Linked DNA regions of Homo sapiens: region 1 is linked to region 2. The links are contacts of gene promoters, found by promoter capture Hi-C in blood cells and fetal thymus (Javierre and others, 2016). All regions are on one chromosome and are shown on one strand. Each heading gives the region's core, a stretch centred on a gene start or on the middle of the fragment in contact. The rest is flanking DNA. Distances are from core to core; before and after follow the strand shown. Region 1 overlaps DVL1 (dishevelled segment polarity protein 1). Region 2 holds the start of TTLL10-AS1 (TTLL10 antisense RNA 1).

The links. Contacts are between HindIII fragments. The CHiCAGO score rates a contact against its expected background, and 5 or more counts as called.
Region 1: a contact is called between a fragment that was not itself captured here and the fragment with the promoter of TTLL10-AS1 in region 2, in 1 of 17 cell types (activated CD4 T cells). The highest score is 6.0, in activated CD4 T cells.

What each region holds. Positions count from the first base shown.
Region 1 is chr1:1,344,017-1,348,204 of GRCh38, reverse strand. The region is part of intron 1 of DVL1 (dishevelled segment polarity protein 1); the gene reads left to right. Among named protein-coding and RNA genes, the nearest start is that of DVL1, 3.3 kb to the left of the region's middle. RefSeq lists a silencer at 96-272 and enhancers at 1-454, 455-1,084, 1,286-2,164. The HindIII fragment of the contact is 5,737 bases long and covers 1-4,188 here.
Region 2 is chr1:1,177,383-1,181,543 of GRCh38, reverse strand. It overlaps TTLL10-AS1 (TTLL10 antisense RNA 1), which reads left to right and starts at 1,989. Exons shown (of 2, transcript NR_173246.1): 1 at 1,989-2,179. It overlaps TTLL10 (tubulin tyrosine ligase like 10), which reads right to left. Exons shown (of 16, transcript NM_001130045.2): 4 at 2,211-2,355; 5 at 1,807-1,887; 6 at 1,204-1,510; 7 at 943-1,061; 8 at 684-813. The coding sequence starts at 2,328. RefSeq lists an enhancer at 1,874-2,373. The HindIII fragment of the contact is 12,910 bases long and covers 1-4,161 here.

The DNA.
Region 1 (4,188 bases), core at 1,368-3,867, 170 kb before region 2:
CCTGCTGTGCTGAGCTGGGCCCTCTGGGACAGGGAGCAGGAGCCTGGCGGTCTGCTTGAGGCCTGGCCTGGCCCGGCCCAGCCACCAGTAACCTGAGTCCCTAGTCCCAGCTCAACAGTGCTGGGGGCGGGCTCAGGCCTCGTGGCCCCAGGAGGTGAGCCTCCGGCAAGCGGTGTCCTTGTGTGTGGCCGCTTCTTGGGATTGTGACATTAAGGTTGTTTCTTGGATTCTGTGGTTGCAGGGTCCTCAGGCAGCCCCAGGTCCAGTCAGGCTGGGTCCGCTCTGGAGCTCTCAGGGGGGCCCAAGGGACATCTAGACAGCTGTACTTTCCTTCCCCACCCCCACGACCAGGCAAAGCAGAGAGGGCAGGGTGCGTCCTTGGCAGCCTTTGAAGGCTGGGCGCTCCCCACTCGGCTCAGCGGCCCTCCTGCCCGCTCCGGTCAGGTTGGGCAGGAGGGGGCGGTTTGTTTTCTGAGTCTGGTCCGGGCTCCTCCCCAGCTGGGGCACCTTGCAGTCCCTGCTTCTCTGGGCCTGGGCTGCTTTGGCCTTGAGCATGGGGCATGTGTCAGGTACTTTTGTTTTTGACTTAGTTTATTATTCTAACGAAAGTTACCAAAGTTACTAATGCTGTTTGTTGCAAATGTGTGCCACCAGGAAATGCGTAGTGAGGAGGTGCCCAGCCCCCAGGTTCTGCTCCTGGACCATGCTCTGGGATGAAGCCCTGGGGGAGTCCGCCTTCTGCTCCTGACACCCACCGGGGGCTGCCCAGGGCAGAGACAGCCTGACTGTTGCCCTAGTGCACTTCTAGCAGTGGCTGCACCTGCTGGGCACATTTGGAGGACGCGTGGGTGCCCGGGCCTGGGAACAGGGTGGGCAGGTCTGGGTGTCGAGGCAGGCTTGGGGATGCGGCCAGGAAAGAGACAGGGGAGCTTCAGTGTACAGCTTTGGAGGCTGCAGACTTACAGGGGGCTGGGAGTCAGTGGGGCTGCAGAGGTCAGGGCTGGGCTGGGCTGGGCTGTGGGGGTTGGAAAGAATGGACTGGGGTGATGCTGGAGGTCCAAGACGAGGGCCTTGCTCTGTAGCCTCCCAGGTCCTCTGGCTGGGATGGGGGCCTTGCTCTGTGTCCTCCCTGGTCCTCTGGCTGGTGGCCTCAGGAGCCTACGGAGGACCCTCATCAATTACTTCCTTCATCCCTTCCCCTGAGTTCTACCCGCAGACCTCTCAGCACTGTCTGTTCTGTGGAATAGAACCCCCGTGGGAGGGGCTGGTTGGTCAGTAATACTTTAGCTTAAGCGACTGCTGAACTAGACACTGACCCTGGATGCCAAGCGAATGTAGTTGGAGATGGGGGGAAGAGAAGGCAGGTCCTCGCTGGTCTGGGGTGGCCTTCATAAGAGAGGGAGCTTCAGGCTGGGGACGCTGAGGAGGCCCTGGTGAGTCGGGGGTTCCTGCGCCAGCCCCCGCTGCATTCTCAGCCCAGCCCTGGTTCCCCAGCCTCTGCTCCAGAGCATGACTGACCACCTTGCAGTGCAGGGAGCCTGTGTCATGGCCACAACCACGTGCCCTGGTCTGGACCCCACTCCCCACGCACGGCTTTGGCCCAGTGGGTGAAGGTCCCCCGCCTGTCCTCCACTTTTCATGCCCTGGTCACAGCTATTCTGACCCAAGATCCCCAGGGCTGGGAGGAGGGCAGAATTGGGGAGGGTCTCTGCCTGGTGCTGGGTTTGGTGGTTGGCAGGGGGTCTCGCCCAGCCTTGGGCCGAGGCAGAGGAGGGAGGGTGTTTGGCTCCGGGTCCCCACTGCTGGGTGCGTGGCGGATGCTGGGCCTGCTGGACTTGGCACCGAGGCTGTCTGTTGGGCACAGCTCCCACAGTTCATCTCCGAGGTGGGGGTGACCCAGGCCTGGGACTGGGGGATGGGTGGAGGCAAGGCTGTGGGCCCAAAGCCCTGGTCCCCAGGGCCGCCTGCCATGGGCCTCGGTGTTGTGACAGCTCCTTGTGTCCTGGGTGGTGCTGTGGGGAGCTATGGAGTTGGGGAGGCTCTGCCTGGCCTGGGCTGTGGGGGGAGTTCCCACTCCGCCCTCCCTGGCTGTGCCACTTGGGGTCTGTGACTCAGCCTCTCTGTGCCCTGAGTGCCTCCCTGGTTTTGGGAGGGTCCAGGCAGTTCACCTACTGCACTCATAGCCATGGCCTAGCAGGGACACTTGAGCCTGTGTGTCCTGAACCGGGGGAGGGGCACAGAGAGATCCCAGGACTCGGCACCACCCAGGGGACAGGCTGGTGGAGAGCCCCTGGCTCTGGGGTCAGGGGTTGGGAGGCCACAGACCCCCAAGGCTGAGGGCCCTGACCTGGGGCGTGCACAGGGGGCTCTGAGGGCACAGGATGGCTCTGCACCGCCTGTCCTGGGCCAGCTACCCCTGCCAGCTTCCTGCTCCGCCTTGGGAGAATGGGGTGCATTCGGGACCACGCCACGTCTAGGGCAGCTGGCTGTGGCCTCTGGGAGTCTGGAGGGTTCTCTGCATCCTGTGTGGCCATGCTGGCTCCCAGGGCGCTGCCTCTGAGTGGATTCCTCCCCGGGGCGGGTCTGTGGGGGCAGCACACAGGTTAGCCAGGCCTCACAGGGAATCCCAAGGTGGGGGCACAGTGCCGGCAGGGGCGCCCCTGGCAGCTGCCGTGAGTTTCAGCGGAGGCTGCTACAGAGGCGCGGGGACCCCGGGTTGTGGGTACGCCCCCAATGCCTGGCCAGCCTCCAGCACCCTCCCCCATCTGGCTGGGGTGGGGACGGCAGGGCTCTGCCTGGGACCTGGGTAGCTGATCCCTGGAGCCCCAGGCAGACCCCACCCTTCCCTCTGTGCTGTTTGGGTCCTGCTCCCTTTCTCCTGGCCCAGCCAGGCTTGGGTCTGCACCCTGCCACTGGGGGCAGGGGAGGACTTGTTACACCCTGTTGGGCTGAAGAGGGCGGAGTGAGTAGGGCCTCTGGGTCCTGGCTGGACATCTGTGAGGGGGCAGGGGGCAGGGACATCCCAGGCAGCCTGGGGTCTTCGTGAGGCCCTGGCTGGGTGGGCCATGCGGGCTTGGGCCACTCTGGATGGTGGGAGGGGGCAGGGCCCTCTTCCGGTGGAGCCAGGCGGGTGCTGTACTGGGGTGCTGGGTGGCCGAGTCTCCCTCCAGTGAGTCAGAGGGTGCTGGGTGGCCGAGTCTCCCTCCGGTGAGTCAGAGGGTGCTGGGTGACTGAGTGTCTCCCTCAGGTGAGTCAGAGGGTGCTGGGGTTGGGTGTGGCAGGGGAGAAGCTGCCGGCCAGGCCACCTGGGGCCGTGTGTCAGGGACTGAGGTGGGGACCCTGCCAGGGGCTCTGCTGTGGTCAGGTCCATTAGAGACAAGGGCTCACTGTGGGCCCTGGCCCCCTGGCGGCAGCTAGTGGTGGCCTCGGTGTCCGTGGGGCCCGCCTCACCCTGGGTTGCTCCAGCCTTTCAGGTGTGACAGCCTCTCACTGTGGCGGCCTCAGCCTGGCATGGGGTCATGGTCTTACCTGGGAAGGCTCCTGTGTGGGGGCAGCAGACGTGGAGGGGTCTGAGAAGTGACCTTCTCTGCTCTTTGGGGGCGTCTACCTCATGGCCTGGCCCTGGGTGGCCTGGGGAGGCAGCTGCAGGACCCCAGAGGGCTAGGTAGGGGTCCCTGCTCCCACCTGGGCTGGCCCTGCCTGCTGTCCACTCTGCCCTGAGGCTTGGGGCCTCTTCCCAGCAAGTGGGTGGGCCAGGGCTTGGGTGAGAGTGTGGGTTTGCCACTTTGCCGGGGGCCTCCTGCTACCTACTGCTTCGGAGTCTGGCTGAGTCAAGGTGCCCCGGGGTCAGGGGACCTGGAGCGGCCAGTCGGGGTGGCTCTGTAGCTCGCAGTGGGACTAGCAGCCACAAGGCCGCTTCCTGCCAGGTGTGCGGCCAGGCCAAGCCCCGTCTCCGGGCTCCTATTTCTCCACTGGGCCCAAGTCCCGGGCGTGGAAAATGCTGCTGGGCAGGGCAGGGTGCCACGAGGCGGCGTCCAGATCCTACCCAGCCTGCTGCCTGGGCCCTCAGAGGTCACAGTGTGAGTGTCGACCACAGCCCTGCCTGCCTTGCTCCTTGGCCTGGGGACCTGCCCCTGCCCAGCCATCCCCTCTGTGCCGTGTGGGTTGCCACCCTGCCCTCTGAACTCT
Region 2 (4,161 bases), core at 740-3,239:
TAAAGCTGGTGTCACAGGCAACCAGGGGCGGGGGGTGCAGATGGAGGCAGCTGCGGTTGGCTGGGCGGGTGCTTGGTGCAAAAATGTCTGGGCCAAATGAAGTGAGGAGGGATAGGTGGGTCCATAGAAGGGCAGTGGGCAGGGCTGGGAGCAGGAGGACGAAGTCGCTAGGATGGATGGCCCAGACTTGGGTGAGCGATGGACGGCCTCACTCAGGGCACCCACAGGTGACGGTGGGCACGGTGTGGGATTGTGGATGGATTGGATGGATGTTTGGGGTGAAGGCAGATTGACAGGTGGGTTGTACCTGGGTGGGTCTGTGAGATGGACAGGTGGGTGGGTGTCAGGCCCAGTGGGTTGGGGACGTGTGGGATCTTCCCCGTTCAGCCACGAGGAAGAGGGTGGGTTTATGGGACAGGGGTTTGGCCCTTTAAAGGACAGGTGGAAGGTGGAGGCAGGTGCTGACGGGTGGGGGCTGGGGCCAGCCTGGGAGCCCAGGTGGCCAGGGGCAGGGGCAAGGGCAGGGGCAGGGGCTGGAGCCAGCCTGGGAGCCTGGGTGGCCAGGGGCAGGGGCAAGGGCAGGGGCGGGCGCAGGGGCAGGGGTGGGGCGGGTGCAGGGGCAGGGGCAGGGGCAGGCGTAGGGGCGGGCGCAGGGACGGGGGCAGGGGCAGGGGCAGACTCACCTGGCCTGGACCCCCCCCGGCACCTTGCTGGCCTTGCTCATGGCCCGTGCCCGTCCCCGAAGGGTGCTGAGCAGCCCGATCTTGGTGGTGAGGAGCTTGTTGTTGGGAAGCTGGTACAGCAGCTGCTCTCCTGGAGGTCAGAGGCCAGGGCTCGTGTGGAGGGAGCGCAGGACCTCGGTCCCCACCCCTCCAACCTGCCCTGTGCTCCGGCCCAGGAGGCCCCTGCAGGCTGCCCGCCTCTGGTGCCGGCTCCCGCTACCTTCCCGGAAGCTGCCGTAGCTGTCTCGGCTCTTGACCTCACACCACTTCAGCGTGTAGTCGTCCCGGCGGCTGTCATGGATGCGCTGCCAGCCCTTGCTTTTGCAGTAGGAGCTGATGCTGCGAGGGGTGGGGGCGGGGGTGACCTGGGGGCCGAGGCAAGGGGTTGGGGATGGCGGGCGGCCAGCGGAGGCCGGGCTGGGCCCCGGGAGCAGGCGGTGGGTATTCAGTGGGACCACGGGCGCCCAGGGCCGCTACTCACATTGTGGCCCCGTTGCTGCCTCCAATGTAGAAGAAGGGCCCCGGCCGGGTGCTGTGGGGCGATGGCTTCCCACCCCCCAGCAGGAGCCCCTCCAGGAGGGCAGCTGAGGGCCCGGCGGCGTTAGTGTCATCCGAGTCTGCAGGCCGGTGGCTGTTCAGGAGCCCAGGGGGTCCGGGTGTGGCAGAGGCTCTTTCTGCCCCCTCCAGGTCCGGCCCACAGTGTCCATCTGCGTCGTGGTCTGGCTGGCTTGGCTGACACCGGAGTCCCTCCTCCTGGCTGCTCCCCATTGGCCTCTCGTGGGCCGGGCCTGTGAACGGGGTGGGGTCCCACCGGGGTGGCTACGGGAGCTGCCCACTCAGCCCGGACATGGCTCAGCCAGTTTGCTCCCAGCCCATTTCTCCAATACCCTGGACAATCCCCCTGGCCCGTCTGGGGCTCAAGTTCAGCCCGAGCTCTGGCCCCACCAGGCGGCCTGGGGACTGCTTACATCTGGGGAGGGGCCGTGACCACCCTCCAGGGCCAGGCTTCCTGCCGGCAGGTTCCAGGTGGGGGTGGGGAGCTTGGAGCAGGGGGCAGGGAGGTCGCCCCTCCGACCCTCCTCACCAACAGGGCAGTGGCCTGGTGCAGGGCAGGGGCCGGGCTGTGAGGCCGGTGCTGGGTGCAGACGTGACGCAGGGATGGTCCCTGGAGGGCAGGGGTCACAATGTCCATGATGATGTCATGGGTGACCCAAGGGGCCATTGTCAGGCCGGGAGACGAGGGGCTGCCCTTCCAGGGGTGGTGCCAGCCAGGCGGAACCCTGGGCCGCGGAGCGCGACAGCTCCCCTCTGTGCCTGCAGAGCCCGGCGCCCACAGCTGGCCCCTCTCTCGGAGCAGCGGGGCATGGCCATGTGTGGATCCTGCCCCTGCCCCATGAGGCCGACTGACTTCCTTGGGTATGGGGCACCCGTCCCAGGGAGGCCTTGGCCTTGGAGAGGTAGGAGGCCACCCAGGGCTGCTCTATTCACCTGAGACTCGAGCCCGAGGCCTCTGCTGGATCCTTGGCCTCTTGCCCCTCTTGAAGCCGGCTCGGGTCCGAGTGGGTGGTCCCCGGCGGTGGATGAACCGGGTGCAGCTGTGGTCCATTGGCCGGGGGGTGCCCGGGCGAGGGCCCTGAAGGGAAGATGCCGCTCTGACCCTCCTGTGGGACCTCCGCGCGGCCCGAGGCCCCAGTGCTTGGATGGAGCAGGCAGTCAGGCCCACCCTGCCCAGGAAAGGGCGCCTCCCAGGGCCGTGGGCTTGAGCCTCTGCGTGCGGCTGGCTCCCGTCTCTGTGGCAGCTGTGGGGCCTGGCGCCGTGTGGGGGCGAGGCTGTCTCTGCACCCTGTCTCTGCCGGGCATGTCCTCCCTGGCCGGAGCGGCTCTTCAGGTGTGGCTGAGCTCGGCCTGGGTGCCGGCTGGAAGGAGGGGCAGCGTCAGGCCTGCTGGGTGGGGCGCCTGCCTGAAGAATGGAGGGTGGGAGGGCTCCTTGGCCTGAGCAGGGGTCTTCTCTGTCTCCGCTGCTGACCCCGGAGCCCAGCTGTGGGCTGTGTGCAGCCGCCTGGTACCTGCCATCAGGGTTCCTCTGCGGCCGCCCCTGGGTGCCAGGCCCGACCCCCAGGACACTGTCTCCAGCAACACCTTCCCATGTTGCAACTTAGGAATTTTCAGCCAGTTCCTCGACAGATCTTTCTACCTCTGTCTCCAGCAAACAAACCCATCTTGGGGCTGCTTGGGAGGTGAGAACTTTTTTTTTTTTTTTGAGACGGAGCTTCATTCTTGTGGCCCAGGCTGGAGTGCAATGGGGCGATCTAGGCTCACTGCAACCTCTGCCTCCCAGGTTCAAGCGATTCTCCTGCCTCAGCCTCCCAGGTAGCTGGGACTACAGGCACCCACCACCATGCCCAGCTAACTTTTTGTATTTTTAGTAGAGATGGGTTTTCTCCATGTTGGTCAGGCTGGTCTCAAACTCCCGACCTCAGGTGATCCGCCTGCCTCGGCCTCTGAAAGTGCTGGGATAACAGGTGTGAGCCACTGTGCCCGGCTTAGGTGAGGGCTTTCAAGGGTTTGAAGGAACTCGCCCAGGAGACAGGGGAGCACACGGCAGTGTTGGGCAGAGGCTGTGGGGGCTCTGAGGCTGGAGAAGGCTGGGGTAGGCCTGAGGCTCCAGGCTGGGCACAGAGCTCGGCACCAATCTCACCCGCAGGAAGCCTTTGTGTCTGCCCCTCCCTGCCCCGCCTGAGTGACAGGAGGGAAGGAGACAACGAGGAAGCCCACGGGCAGGGGAAGGTGGGGAAACTGAGGCAGCCGTCTGCACGATGACCCAGTCGGGTGGGGCCACTGGGACCCGTCCTCAGGGAGGAGCGGAACACAGGCTGGGCCCCCCACCTGTGTCTGGGAGAGCCTCACGCCCTCTTCCTAGGGTGGGCTGGGCAAGAATGGAAGAAGTCAGGAGCCCTGAGACCCCTCCCCACCCAGAACAGGAGGACTTTTGGAAGAGGCTGGACCCTGCGCAGGCACGGAGCAGGTGTGTGCGTGCAAGACTCTGCATTAAATGGGAGACCTCAGCTCCTTCTCATGGGCCCTCAGCACCCAGGATTCCTGCTGGGGAAGGGGATCCTCTAAAGTACTGACTCTCAGCCAAAGGGGCTGCCCAGGCCCAACAGGCATCATCAGAGGGACTCCCAAGTGTGAAGAAGAGTGACACAAGGACAGCCGGGCGCGGAGGCTCACGCCTGTAATCCCAGCACTGTGGGAGGCTGAGGCGGGCAGATCATGAGGTCAGGAGATTGAGACCATCCTGGCTAATATGATGAAACCTTGTCTCTACTAAAAATGCAAAAAATTAGCCGGGCATGGTGTTGGGCGCCTGTAGTCCCAGCTCCTTGAGGGGCTGAGGCAGGAGAATAGCTTGAACCTGGGAGGTGGAGCTTGCAGTGAG